5 separate regions of the Homo sapiens genome follow, and all the other regions are linked to region 3. Evidence: promoter capture Hi-C in 16 types of primary human blood cells and fetal thymus (Javierre and others, 2016). All regions are on one chromosome and are shown on one strand. The core of a region is centred on a gene start or on the middle of the fragment in contact, and the rest is flanking DNA. Distances in the headings are between cores, read along the strand shown. Region 1 overlaps GRK5 (G protein-coupled receptor kinase 5). Region 2 has its middle 44 kb from the start of RGS10. Region 3 holds the start of SFXN4 (sideroflexin 4). Region 4 overlaps BAG3 (BAG cochaperone 3). Region 5 overlaps RGS10 (regulator of G protein signaling 10).

Region 1 (2,700 bases), core at 84-2,583, 260 kb after region 3:
CATCAGCATCACTGCTGTTATCAATATCCCACCACCATCAACAGCATCACTGCCATAAACAGCATCACCGCCATCAACATCACCACCATCAACAGCATCACAGCCATCAGCAGCATCACAGCCATCAGCAGCATCACCACCATCATCAATATCACTGCCATCATCACCATCATCAGCATCACCGCCATCATCAGCATCACTGCTATCATCAGTATCACTGCCATCATCAGCATCACTGCTGTTATCAATATCCCACCGCCATCATCAGCATCACCGCCATCATCAGTATCACCGCCATCAACAGCATCACTGCCTTCATCAACATCACCACCATCATCAGCATCATCACCATCATCAGCATCAACCACCATCTTCAGCATCATCGCCATCAACAGCATCACTGCCATCAACAGCATCACTGCCTTCATCAACATCACCACCATCATCAGCATCATCACCATCATCAGCATCACCACCATCATCAGCATCACTGCCATCAACAGCGTCACCACCATCAGCAGCATCACTGCCATCATCAGCATCACCGCCATCATCAGCATCACCACCATCATCAGCATCACCGCCATCATCAGCATCACAGCCATCAGCAGCATCACCGCCATCATCAGTATCACCACCATCCTCAGTATCACCGCCATCATCAGCATCACCACCATCATCAGCATCATCACCATCATCAGCATCACTGCCATCATCAGCATCACTGCTATCATCAGTATCACCTCCATCATCAGCATCACTGCTGTTATCAATATCCCAGTGCCATCAACAGCATCACCACCATCATTAGTATCACCACCATCGTCAACATCACTGCCATCATCAGTATTACCACCATCAGCGGCATCACCACCATCATCAGCATCACCACCATCAACAGCATCACCACCATCATCAGCATCACTGCCATCATCAGCATCACTGCTGTTATCAATATCCCACTGCCATCAACAGCATTACTGCTATCATCAGTATCATCGCCACCGTCAGCATCACTGCCATCATCAGCCTCACTGCCATCATCAGCCTCACTGCCATCATCAGCATCACCGCCATCAACAGCATCACTGCCATTAGTCCCACTTCACCAGGTCTGATACTGGGAGGCACAGCCAACTCTTGCTGGAGGATCAGTCCTGATTCTGCCAATTACAGGGCAGTCTAGTGGAGCTGTGTTCGCCATGCCCACGCCCGGTTCTGGAGCCCTGGGCTGTGCAACACACAACCCCAATCTGTGTCCACCTTCCCAGAGTGGCAGTGTGGGGTCAGGATACAGAGCATGGGCTGCCTAGACCCCAACTCCAGCCCACCGCTACCAGCTAGGGCCTCGGGCAACTCATTTCACCTCTTGAAGCCTCAGCGTTCTCATCTGCAGAATGGGGACAATAATGATCCCTGCTCCCTGAGCTTGTGTGAGGATTATAGAAGCCCCCATGTGTGCTTGGAGCAGTAGGTATTGTTACTATAGAGACCCCCAGAGGGGGGCATGCCCTTTATTCCTAGGAGTTCAAATAATGACATCTGACACATCACCAGTTTACAAAGAGCCCTCCACTGGATGTAAGGCCTTCTCATGATCATTTTCCTCAGAGGAGTTGGAGCAGCCTTGGGCCACTCAGCAAGGGCCTGGCAAGGCTGGAACCTGAACCCAGAGGCCCCCTCCCAAGTCCTTGGGCCTTGGTCCACCCAGCACTCCAGTTCCCATAGCAGCCTTTGTCGGTGGTCACTGGCTTTCCTTTTTCTTATCTGCACCAAACACATGAAATGGAGAAATTATCCTTTTTACTCTGTGGCCTGATTGCAAAGAAGGCATTAAGTTTTTGGAGCCTGTAGGGCAGGACCCTGGCCTAGGAATGCCCTACATATCAGATAGCACCCTGCACAAGATCCTGCCTGGTTGGTGCTGTACTGCTGAAATAGTCAAGGGTTTTTTTCCTCCCAAGGTTAACCAAGAAATTCCTGGGAGCTTGCATTCCACTCATTTCCCCCAGCAGAGGAGTTCTGCGGAGATGTCAACCAACCGTTTCTCCTCCATGCATCGTAAACTGTTAGGCGGGCCGCCTTCATGTGGTTTCCGGGGGCGGCTGTAGGGAAGGCTTCCCAGGGCCACGTGGTCGAGGCAGGCGTGTGGCAGCTCTTCCCTTTGGCTGTCCAGCCGCTCCTGTGCAGAAGAGCGGGATACCCGCAGAGGGGCAGCTCTGCTTCGGTGGGGTTTGGGCCCTGTGTCCTGAGGAAGCACTGGTGAAGGGAGAAGTGAGCCATGGCACGCAAATTCAAGATGGGGTGCCAGAGAGTACCCTGGCTTTTCAGGGCCTTCCTCAGAGTGCGGCTGTGGTGCCACAGATGTGATTTCCAGGGAAGACTCATTCGTTCAAGAGCTGCTGGGTGACTGAAGGCTCCCTGGTCATCCTCAGCTGACCCAGTTCTTTGGCCCAGTTCTGCTCGATCCAACCCCTGCCCTGGTCGGGACTTTTGAGGAATTTAGGAGCAGGAGTTTAGTCTTGGAGAGCCAAGAGCCAATTTTCACGTTTTAAGCTGATTATTTGTAGCCAAACAGACCAGCAATGCAAACCACAAGCCCTCTGCACCGTGATGTCCTTTATGGCAACTAGATAGGACCATGTCTTTGCTTAGTCCAAAAAGTGCCATCATGCCTCATGATCAGAAGTTCTGTCTGAT
Region 2 (2,700 bases), core at 46-2,545, 330 kb after region 3:
CTAATATTTGTATTTTTAGTAGAGACAGAGTTTCACCATGTTGGCCAGGCTGGTCTCAAGCTTCTGACCTCAGGTGATCCACCTGCCTCGGCCTCCCAAAGCGCTGGGATTACAGGTGTGAGCCGCCACACCCAGCCAAAGATACAATTTCAACGCTAATCGATGAATGGATGGGCATAGGGACGAAAGCAAAGGGCTGGGTAGAAGCATCTGTTTGGCTACGCGGGTCCCTACACTTCAGCCTCACATTTGCAATTGCTTCAGGACACTAAATTCTGCATATGCCTCATTTCTGCGACTGGCATAGACGTAGGCAATCAGGCAGGAGCAAGCCAGAGGGAGTGGCATAAGTTCACGCTAGTAGGAGTAAATGGTGATTAAACTCTGAGGCTCACCACCCTGCTGGCATTCAGCTCTTCAGGCAGCTCCTAAGTGGGGGCGGGCGGAAGGCTTTTCTTTTAATGTCCGATCTTCTGGCTAACTCTGGCTATTTGCTTTATTCAAACTCTTAAAAAGAGATGGTCATCTCAAAGAGTCTCTGCACCCATTGATAAAAGGGGAAAAGTCAGAGAGCAGCCTCCTCGCCCACCTTCAGTCTCTGGGACCTGCCCACAACAGGCTCTTCCAAAGGGAGTCAATCAGGTCGCCATGAAGCCTCCCTACGTCTGCAATGGTGCAGTGGGCTGTCCCCACATCCCTGAATAACCGAACTGCATCCGGTTAATAAACCGAAAGCTGAGCTAGAGAACCTGTGTTGTTTTTCATCTTTACTCTTTAAAATGCATCAATCTAGCCAGGCGCGGTGGCTCACACCTGTAATCCCAGCACTTTGGAAGGCTGAGGGGGGCAGATCACTTGAAGGCAGGAGTTCGAGACCAGCCTGGCCAACATGGTGAAAACCCGACTCTACTAAAAATGCAAAAATTAGCTGGGCATGATAGTGGGTGCCTGTAATTCCAGCTACTTGGGAGGCTGAGGCACAAGAATCGCTTGAACCTGGGAGGCGGAGGTTGCAGTGACCTGAGATCATGCCACTGCACTCCAGCCTGGGAGACAGAGTGAGACTCCATCTCAAAAAATAAAAAATAGGCCTGGCGCGGTGGCTCATGCCTGTAATCCCAGCACTTTGGGAGGCCGAGGCAGGAGGATCACGAGGTCAGGAATTTGAGACTAGCCTGACCAACATGGTCAAACCCCGTCTCTACTAAAAATACAAAAATTAGCCAGGCATGGTGGTGCATGCCTGTAATCCCAGCTAATCAGGAGGCTGAGGCAGAAGAATCGCTTTAACCCATGAGGCATAGGTTGCAGTGAGCCAAGATCATGCCACTGCACTCCAGCCTGGGCAACAGAGCGACACTCTGTCTCAAAAATAAATAATAAATGCACCAATCTGCTCTGCTTGACAATGAACTGAATTTCTCTGATCACGGGGCCCTTGTGTGTCATTCTCAGCATAACCGTCTCCTTCCTAAGTTCTGGAAATAGGCAGAGAGAAGACAGGCGCAGAGTAGGCCTGTCTGGGAAGTACCTGAGGAGGGTGGAGAAGCCTGTGTTTGCTGTTTCTGATGAATGTTGTTGGGTTATTTAGTGCTTGGCAGTGAACGGTTCCCTGAAGACCATCCCTTTCCCAGGCCCTGGATGGAAGGGCAGGAAACATTTGACCACAGTGTCTAGACAGCGAGGCTAGGGAATCTGGGGGGCTGCCCAGGAGCTCATATGGGGGACAGCCATCAGTAGGGTAACTGACCCAGACTAGAACCAGATTAGGGCTTGTAATAGGCATTATCCTAGTCTAATTATTGAGATCACCCCCTCTTTTCTCCCAAAAGTGTCCTAGTTTGATTGATAAATTATACAGCCACCTTCAACATTAGTGAATTTTGCAAACAGGAAAGTCTGAGTTGGGAGGCTCACACGCAACAGAAGCTGGTCACTTTGTACAAATAGAAAGGGCTTAGCAAACATCCTGGAAAAGGCCTGGTGGCAGCACCCAACCCCCTACAAATAGCAGGAACAATTCACCAAAGGGAACTGAGCCTGACCTTGGCCCTGGTGGGCTCTGCTCTAAAAGTGGAGTTCCTGGGCTGGCGGGGACAGCCTGGCCCAAGCGTGCCCCGCCTGGCCCAAGCGTGCCCCATTCACAGCCTCCTCACCCAAGAAGGGCAGGCTTCAAGGCAGCATTTCTTTTCCCCGTTGAAGTCTCAAGCCAGAGTTAGCAAGTTCAGCAAAGGGCAGGAGCAGAGAGGAAAGGATTATGATGTGTCCCCGATGGGTACAGGAGAAGGGAACAGCCCCACCAACTCCAACCTCAGTACGCACCTGTGCTACAATCCCATTCAACAACACCTTGAGTTGCCATGGGGACCCTGAACAATTTCCCACTTGTGTTTTTTTTCCTTCCTGGTTGAGATCTTGTTTCTGTCAAGATGAACTATTTATCTGTGTTGCATGAAATGTCATGGGTTGTGGTCAAAACCAGGACCAACCCACGCACAAGAAATAATAACCCTTTGATGACACTCACACACAAGCTTCCCAAGTCTTTAGAGGCTGTCAGTGATTCATTTTCTTTTTCCAGCACTGAACTTGCTCTCGAGAAATATTTAACCCAAAAGGCGACTGGCAGGCCATACCCCCAGTAGCCTGGGTTTGCCGGATCAACTCATGTTTGAGTTAATTTACCAAGTGACCTGTGGA
Region 3 (2,700 bases), core at 94-2,593:
AAGCTGAGGCTTAGAGGGACTCCTGAATGTACTCAAGGCAACACAGCCAGGAAATGATTCAGAAGTCTGTGCCCTTAACCTCTCAGTATCAAATTGCCCTTGAGGGTTAAAATCCCAGACTTTGGGGGTTCAAATGGTCTTACGTTCATATCTCACATACGACCTCGAAGCAATGGCCTAGAATATCTCAAGAGTCTGTGGCCTCACTCTCTGCTTGCTATAAGGCTTCACTCCAGTGACAAAGGATGGACGCCCCATTAAGGGCTCAATGGTGCAGCTGGGGTCACACTGGGGAAAAAGAGGTTTGCTCCAGCAAACTCTAAACTTTGTAGTGGTTCTGGCTTTAAGCCTTGGCTCTGCTGGAGCAACCTGAGCTCACCGCCCCTTCTCAATTTCCCCACCTAAAAAAAAAACAGGGCTGGACCCCACTTTAGGAGAGGCCTCAAAGAGAACCCCCTAAAGCCCTGCTCTCCAATTCGCCACATGCGGCTGAACCCAGATGTGCTGTGAAGGTAACAGACGCCGGATTTGGAACACTCTGTACCAAAAAAGCGAGTAAAATATCTCAGCAATGTTTTTTACTGATTACATGTTGAAATGTTAATATTTTGCACCTGCTAGGCTAAATGTACTGTATTGTTAAAAATTTCAGCTGTTTTTATCTTGTTTAATGTGGCTACTAGAAAATGTTTAATTACCTGTAAGGCTCACATCATATTTCTATTGGACGGTGCTGCCCTAGACGCTGCAGGGAGATAAGTCCTGCTTATGTCCTGCCCAAGGGTGGCTTCCCAAAGCCTCGGGGGTCTCACCGAAAGTGGCTGAGCTTACCAAGGTGCGAGAGCCTGTTTCTCCCCAATCTGCTGCTCAGCCACAGCTCAGGCAGTAGGGAGCAGCCACCTGCGCGGACTGGGCCCCTCCGAGAGGGCAATCTGGAGGGTGACGTTGTGGTCGTGGGCATCTGGCAGCTTCGATTTCCCCTGCGTCCCCTGCCGCGCCCTAAGGGGTGAAGGCCGGTGGTGCGCGTTCCCGGCACAACTCCGAGAGGAGGAAACGGAGACAGGGGGCGCCCACGTGGCCTGGCCAAGGTCACCCGGGTCAGCCCGACTCCACGCGGCCCGGCCCGCCCCCTCCCTGCCCCTAGTCGCGCCGGGCCCGGGCCGTACTTGGCGCTCGGTGATCCAGAAGCGCACGTTGGGCTCAATGAAGGCGGGGACGGCGTCTCTGCGTCCTAGGAGCCGCCCAGGTTGCGTTTCCTCCTCCTGTTCCAGGGACATTTTGCGCTGGTTAGAGTGGCCGCCGCCGCCAGGCCGCGCGTGGAGGAGGAGCCGGGCGGCGAGCCCCGCCCCGGGCCGCGCGCACCCGCAGTTCCCGCCCCAGGCCCGCGCGCCCGACGTCCCGTGTCACAGCGCCTCGGGGCCCTTGCGCGCCCACTGTTCCGGCGAGCGCAGCTCTCCCACGGGCCACGTCCTCCCAACCCTGCTTGCCCTGCTCCGCACCTTTGGGGAGCCGGGCCGTCTCCAGGCCCCAAGGGGTCACTATCGGAACCCGTCATCACAGTACCTAATGCGAAGACCCGGAAAGGTTGTGAGTGAGGCCGTCCGCAACCTCACCCTGCGCTTCTGCCGCGCCCTACCCCTGGTCATTACCCTCGAAAATCCCTCCGATGGCCCACGAATTCCAGTGTGCATGGTGTTGCGCAGTCAGGCCGGCTGCATCATGGTCTCAGCCCAGGGAAAATGTCAAATGCGGTGCCCCTTATTCATGTTACTGAGAATTTCAAGAGAGTAACACCAGAGCATCAAACCAAGTATAGGGCCCTGGGCACAGTGCACTATCCCTCAGCCCAACAGGTTGTTTTTTTTTTTCTTCCAGTGTTGGGGCAAATCCAGTTCCTTTTGTTGACTACCAAATAGGTACCATTTGTAAAGAAAAACCTGCCTTCCCTTCCTCCTCCCACCTGCCCTTCCCCAGCACAGGGCCAGGCGGGGGCTGTGTGCACTTAAATTCACGGAAGCCACAAGTGTGCCTAGGTCGTTCAGGGGGCCTCCGGAGTCCAGGACTGGGGGACCCAGCACATCATCTAGTTGTGTGACCCTCGCCAAGTCAGTATCTCGAAGTCTATTTTCCCATCCGCAAAATGAGGATAACAATTGTACCTATCTCAGGGTTTTGTTTCTGATCAAAGGAGATAAAACATCCCTAACACAGCACTGAGCCCTCAGAAGTGCTCAGTATTGGCCATTAACCTCCAGCGGGCCAATTCCTTCCCTTGCCCTGCGCCTCCAGGAACAGGAAATTGGCTCATGGCGTCCTTCAGGCCTGTATGACTCTGCTTCTGTATTTGCTCAGTTTGCCTAGCTCACTTTTCTTAACCTCCAGGGGTTTATCTCCTCTTCCAGGAAGCCTTCCCTGACCCTCCGAGTTGAGTAAGGTGCCCCCTCCACTTCTACCCTTATGCCGCAGAAATCCATCTAAGCACCAGTGCAGTATGTAGCGTGCTGTTCTATTCTGTTGTCTCTACCCTCCAGGATGTCACAAAGCCAGCCCGCTGGCCTGCTTCCCCACTTTGGACTGCTATGTCGTCTTAACAAAGGAGCCAGAGTGATTCTCTTAGAACAAGTTGATGTCACTCTTCTTTTCAAATCCTTCCTGACATTCCCCACCCCAGAACAGAACCTAAAGTCCTTGGCCTGGCCA
Region 4 (2,700 bases), core at 93-2,592, 490 kb after region 3:
GTGTAGGGCCCAGAAAACTATTAAGTCCAGAAAGCTTTTTTGGTGGTTCTGATTCTGCTGCACTGGCAGTGGGAGCCACGGATGGCCAGTGATCCCATTTTGGGGAGGAGGAGCTGCGGCTTAGTGCCTCCTGAACATCTATCCTGCAGAGCATTTTCCCAAGCCTCCATTTTCCTTCTTGGGGAAACTCCCCAGGTACGCGGGCTTCTGGAGGTGTGAATATGGGGATGACATGGGAAGCGAGCCGAGACAGCACCTTGCAAAGTCTGGCAGGGTGGCTGGCAGTGCGAGAGTGGGGAGGTGGTCCAGAGATCTTCCTGGACCCCAGGAAGAAGCAAGCCAGAGCCTTTTCTTTTTGTCTTGCCCATCTGGCAGAATCTCACCATAATCATTTAACAGATTATACTCAGGCACTGTGACAGGGAGATAGAAACATCCTTTCAGATAACACTGGAAATGTTTCGAGTTATGATTGAAGTAGAGAGACCCATTTATTTTGCTTAAGGTTCAGCAGAGCCTCCTGAATTTTCTTAAAGATGAGATCGTTTTGCTCTTTCCAGATCTATTGCAAGCTGTTATGCCTCTTAGCAGAGGCGGAGCACAATCAGGAAATGAGTGGCCGTTCTCTCCTTCGTATTTCCAGCAAGTTGCAGTTGTGGCTGAGCAAGTTCCTGTGCGACTGCATGAAAGTGATTTGTTGGGGGGCAGATGAACAGCATGGCCAGATGCCTTGGAGCCCAGCTCATCCAGGACTTTCATTTTCCCCTCTGAAGAACAGCCTGTGTTGTTCACATGAGAACCGACTGCACCTCCGAGAACATCATTTGTCCCGTTTTGTAGGGTAGATTTGCCCTTTATGAGGGTGGAGCCTGTACACAGGACCTGCGGCAGCGTTTGACGTTGGCCAGGGCTGGGAAGGCTTAACTGTTGGATGCTATCAGGGCTGCTTGTGAGTCAGAAAGCTTCATACCACCCATGAGGCTTGCTTAGTGCTGTCCTCGTTTCTGGAATGACACACAGTCACCTTATATAAACCACTCTACATGTTTATTACTTTCTATTGACATTTAAAAATGATGTTCTGATGTTTATCATCCAAAGTAGAAAACCATTCATCATCCAGACCTACTCTTTCTCCTTTAAGTTTTGCTGTTTTAATATTGCTCTTAAATGTTTAAGAGAGCTTACAGAAGAAACTGAAGACAAAGGCCTTGCTTATTAGGATCTTTGAGACCCTCTGGCACTGGCGAACACGAGTGAACCCTGTGTCACACTTGACCGTGTTATTCTCCAGCCCCTCCTGGGTTCCCTTTTGTTGTGAGTCAAGTAGACACCTCTGATCTGCTTCTGCCTCAGAGCATAGACTCAGCTGGCCTTCTTTTTTTTTTTTTTTTTTTTGAGACGGAGTCGCACTTTGTCTCCCAGGCTGGGGTGCCGTAGTGCGATCTTGGCTCACTGCAACCTCCGTCTCCTGGGTTCAAGCGATTCTCCTGCCTCAGCCTCCCAAGTAGCTAGGATTATAGGTGAGCGCCACCATGCCCATCAGCCGGCCGTCTGAGGCAGGCTCCAGAGCCCCTTGTTTTGCAGGTGCAGGATTCATCTGTATGCATCATGTGGCACATGTGATACCATGTGAGGTATCTGGTGTTACTAAGTCGTCACGTATTTCGATGAAGGTATCTTTGGGACCTTGGCAGCCTTTTAGGAAGCCAGGCAGCTTGCAAAAGCTTAGGAAGAATTTGGGGGGAGAGGAATGAATGTAGTATTTTTCTGTCTGTCAACACACACACATATATATATATATGTGCCAGATATGAGTGGGTGCTTTTGGTAACCTTATCTCTAAATCCTCACCAGCTCTTTGAACTAGAAACTATGAAGTGTCTTACACATGGGACAGCAGATTTGGAGAGGCAGTGTGCCTGGCCTGTGATAAACAGAAAGACTTCTGTGGCTTTACCCCCATCTGAGTTCCTGAAGGGGTGACAGACAGACTTGCCTTTAGCGGGCCTGGCTGCTTTATACTCCCCAGGCACGGCTGCTTTATACTCCCCAGGCACAGCTTGAGGTGATAAACAGCCCTGAGTCCATCTTTGTATAGTTAATCAGAAATGTTGGCCTGTTTCTTGAACCTGGGTCTGGATTTAGGAGATGGGCCCGACTCTTTACTCACTCCTTTACCCCATCTGAAATTCACTGAGTGCCCACAGTGTGCGAGTCACAGTGTTAAATGCCATATAGAGGACAAGTCTGCCCACTTTGAGACTGTTCTCCACAAAGCATGTCCTGCCTCTCCCTGGTCCGAAGCAGGCTGTCTCTCTTCTGGAACCCATATTATTTTAATTTGAATCTTTTTGCTTAAGCTCTGCACTTTTCTGCTTTGTCTTGGGGTCACACCCCTGTTAGGAGTTCTGGGGCAGAGTCTGTGTGCTTCATCGCTGCCTCTTGATGCCTGGCAGGGTCCACAGGCTCAGAAAAGATGGAACGAGTGACTGTGGAGAAGGGTAGAACATGGGCCTGCCCAGAGCGCGAAGGCAGATACAGAAGAGCTGCCCGTGAAGGATGCAGGTGTGTCCCGGGAAGCCTTCCATTGGTTCCTAAGAACTGCAGAGTTGTCCTGGGCTCCTAAAGGTCCCCAGAGGCCTGCTCCTTTTTGTCACTTTGTGAATGGCCTTCTCTGCACAAAGGACTTCAGTATTG
Region 5 (2,700 bases), core at 164-2,663, 350 kb after region 3:
TTCTTACCTTCAGCAATTATAGGTTGCTTTCTCAGTACAGGCTCCTCAAATAGCTCCAGCCTCCCCTCTAATCTGGACTGAGAAGGCAGATAAACTGGTCTAAACTGTGTGTAGACCAAGATTAAACAGGCCTGGGGGGACTCCTGTGGGGCAAATCTCAAGCTTAGAATTCTGGTCCCCACTCTCCCCAACCATGGCCCCTCAGTGTACCTCGGTCTGCCCGGCCGTATGAGATGGTTTCCAGGGAGTCTAACATCGGGTGTTTCAGTAAATTCTTCCAGGCCTGGAATTAATGTAGGTTTTCAAATCAAGGTGCAGGCAGGGAAGTCGGGTTACCTGGTCCTGGAGTTTCTGGAACATCAGAGGGTGCGGTTCTTCCAGGATCTTCTCGTTGAGCCGAGACTGCCCCTCCACGTTGACCTGTGATGAGGCCTTGCTGGACAGAAAGGTCATGTAGATCTCCTTTGCCTTTTCCTGCATCTGGAGGAGACAGATGGGGCCTTGTGCTATCTGCACACACAGCCTTCCCGGCCTGAGCCCTGCTCTCCCCTCCAGCCAGGCCCACAGGAGCTGCTGTGGCAAGAGAAAGGCACCCCCCACAGCCCAGGGGCTCTCAGGCCACTCCAGAGAGAATTTCTATATGGGAGAGCCTGCACTGCCAAGCCCCTACCCCCGCCCCTTCATGCGCCTGCAGCCACTTCTCCTGGAACAAAATTGCTGCATTAACCATTCAGAAGTGATGACAGAAAGAATCCTGGCCCGCAGAGAGCACTCAGTACCATTTACAGCCATCCTGTGGCCGGGCACAGTGGCTCATGCCTGTAATCCCAGCACTTTGGGAAGCCGAGGCAGATTGATCACCTGAGGTCAGGAGTTCGAGAGCAGCCTGGCCAACATGGTGAAACCCCATCTCTAGTAAAAAGACAAAAATTAGCCAGGCGTGGTGGTGCAAACCTGTAATCTCAGCTACTCAGGAGGCTGAGGCAGGAGAATTGCTTGAACCCAGGAAAGAGAGGTTGCAGTGAGCTGAGATTGCACCACTGAACTCCAGCCTGGGTGACAGAGTGAGACTGTCTCTCAAAAAAAAAAAAAAAAATCAAGTTAAAGTATGCACACCTACTATCCCTACCAGTTATTAAGCGCCCACTGGGCTGCAGGCACCTGCTTGGAGGGATCCCATTTCCTTAATCCCCTGGACATGCAGCAAAGGGCATTTTCCTGTTAGCCCCACTTTCCCCATGAGGACACAGAGGTCAGGAGAGGTGGCATGGCTTATCTGAGAGCTTCCGGGAGCCTTAGGACTGTTTGGCTCCAAGGCCTCTGAATTCTGCTCAGTTCCACTTCCGCAAGACACATTGGCCCCTCCAGGTTGTGCGGTATGCGGCCTTCCCAGGCAGGGTGCATTTCCTTTTAGCTAACGAGATACTGAGCACAGCAGTGGAGAAAACACTCGCTGCCCGCCCTCAAGTCCCGAGTGCAGTCCTGCTGGGAAGCAGGAGCCGTGAGTAGGTACCGGCTTCCTGTTTCACCCGAAACTAACCGAGGCTGGCTCAGGAGCACTCACTGATGGTAAGGAGATGACTTCACAGTGAGAACTGTGTCTTCAGGACAGGCGCCTCAGGGCGGGGCTGCAGGCGCAGGAGCCCTCTCCTCCAGAACTTCCCCTGAGGGCTCGATTTTCTTTTAGAGAAAGGAGACTTCCTGTGCTCATACCTCGCCAACAGCAAAAGCGGGGCTGTTTCTCTGAACGTTAGAGTCTAAAGCATGACCTTACCCTACAGAGCAAGGCAGACAACAAATGCCTCTAAAATGCAGCCACACAGCTATGACATGTGTGTGGGGGGCCTGGAAAACTGCCTTTCTCTCCAAGAGCCCAACTGGGGCTCCGCATGTGCTGTGGGGCTTGGTTTGGGAAATCCCAAGCTCTGCAAACCTTCTGCCCTTAAGGAAACCACCAGAAGGTTTTGATAGCTGGGGCATGAAAGGAAGGAAGGGTAGCCCTTTTTTAGTTCAGGGCACTGGGGACAAAAGATCCTGAGAAGCCACGGCCTGGCCATGTCCTGTTCTGCGAGAAAGCAAGCCTCACCAGCACTTGCAGGGAGACGGCCCAGGTTGGGTGAACACCGAAAGCCATGCTGTCCACCCTGTCTTCACTGTCAATAGGAGCAATGAATCGATGCCAGACTCAGTGACACAGGAGTCTCTCCAGACAAGCGTGGCTATCTAAGGGACAGGTCTGGGGGCCATCCTCGAGACCCAAGGGGGTGGCACTTAGGAGCTGGCCCTGCTGTCCTCTCCAAGACCCACCAGCTCCATGAAGCCACAGCCTCCCTCCACCACCCCCATTCCGTCAGGAAGCAACCCTTTTGGAAAACCACTTCCTGTTTTAAAGCCACTTCATGAAAGGAGAATTTCGGCCAGGCAGATGAGCAAACTCCATGCAGAGGTCTGGGGGCAGAAATCACTTTAGACCTCCCCTCCTCCCCTTGACATTCACACGCACACACACACGCACACACGTGCACACACGCACACACATACACACATGAATCCAGGATATCTTGAGTGATTCTGAAATAGAGAAGTGCAATGAATGGCTTGAGTCTTTGAGGTGGGGCAGAAGAGGCCGGGGGAGAGGAAGTAGGTTCCAGTGACTGCAGGTATATAAGCTTTGAGGGTCTCAGCCCTGCCCTCTTCCAC

Evidence for each region. Contacts are between HindIII fragments. The CHiCAGO score rates a contact against its expected background, and 5 or more counts as called.
Region 1: a fragment that was not itself captured here is called in contact with the fragment with the promoter of SFXN4 in region 3 in 2 of 17 cell types (total B cells and naive CD8 T cells); the score reaches 6.3 in total B cells.
Region 2: a contact is called between a fragment that was not itself captured here and the fragment with the promoter of SFXN4 in region 3, in 8 of 17 cell types (activated CD4 T cells, total B cells, endothelial precursors and 5 more). The highest score is 9.1, in activated CD4 T cells.
Region 4: a contact is called between a fragment that was not itself captured here and the fragment with the promoter of SFXN4 in region 3, in 1 of 17 cell types (non-activated CD4 T cells). The highest score is 5.8, in non-activated CD4 T cells.
Region 5: a contact is called between a fragment that was not itself captured here and the fragment with the promoter of SFXN4 in region 3, in 8 of 17 cell types (total B cells, endothelial precursors, erythroblasts and 5 more). The highest score is 6.8, in total B cells.

Annotation. Positions count from the first base shown.
Region 1 is chr10:119,426,908-119,429,607 of GRCh38, forward strand. The region is part of intron 6 of GRK5 (G protein-coupled receptor kinase 5); the gene reads left to right. Among named protein-coding and RNA genes, the nearest start is that of MIR4681, 50 kb to the left of the region's middle. RefSeq lists an enhancer at 2,456-2,625 and a cis regulatory region at 2,541. The HindIII fragment of the contact is 3,735 bases long and covers 1-2,700 here.
Region 2 is chr10:119,497,055-119,499,754 of GRCh38, forward strand. No RefSeq gene overlaps it. Among named protein-coding and RNA genes, the nearest start is that of RGS10, 44 kb to the right of the region's middle. The HindIII fragment of the contact is 2,474 bases long and covers 59-2,532 here.
Region 3 is chr10:119,164,371-119,167,070 of GRCh38, forward strand. SFXN4 (sideroflexin 4) reads right to left here and starts at 1,344. Exons shown (of 14, transcript NM_213649.2): 1 at 1,167-1,344. The coding sequence starts at 1,277. RefSeq lists silencers at 795-981, 1,023-1,492. The HindIII fragment of the contact is 6,667 bases long and covers 1-2,700 here.
Region 4 is chr10:119,655,001-119,657,700 of GRCh38, forward strand. The region is part of intron 1 of BAG3 (BAG cochaperone 3); the gene reads left to right. Among named protein-coding and RNA genes, the nearest start is that of BAG3, 5.0 kb to the left of the region's middle. The HindIII fragment of the contact is 765 bases long and covers 961-1,725 here.
Region 5 is chr10:119,515,173-119,517,872 of GRCh38, forward strand. RGS10 (regulator of G protein signaling 10) reads right to left here. Exons shown (of 5, transcript NM_001005339.2): 4 at 337-480. Among named protein-coding and RNA genes, the nearest start is that of RGS10, 26 kb to the right of the region's middle. RefSeq lists a silencer at 279-492 and enhancers at 1,258-1,840, 2,630-2,700. The HindIII fragment of the contact is 2,507 bases long and covers 161-2,667 here.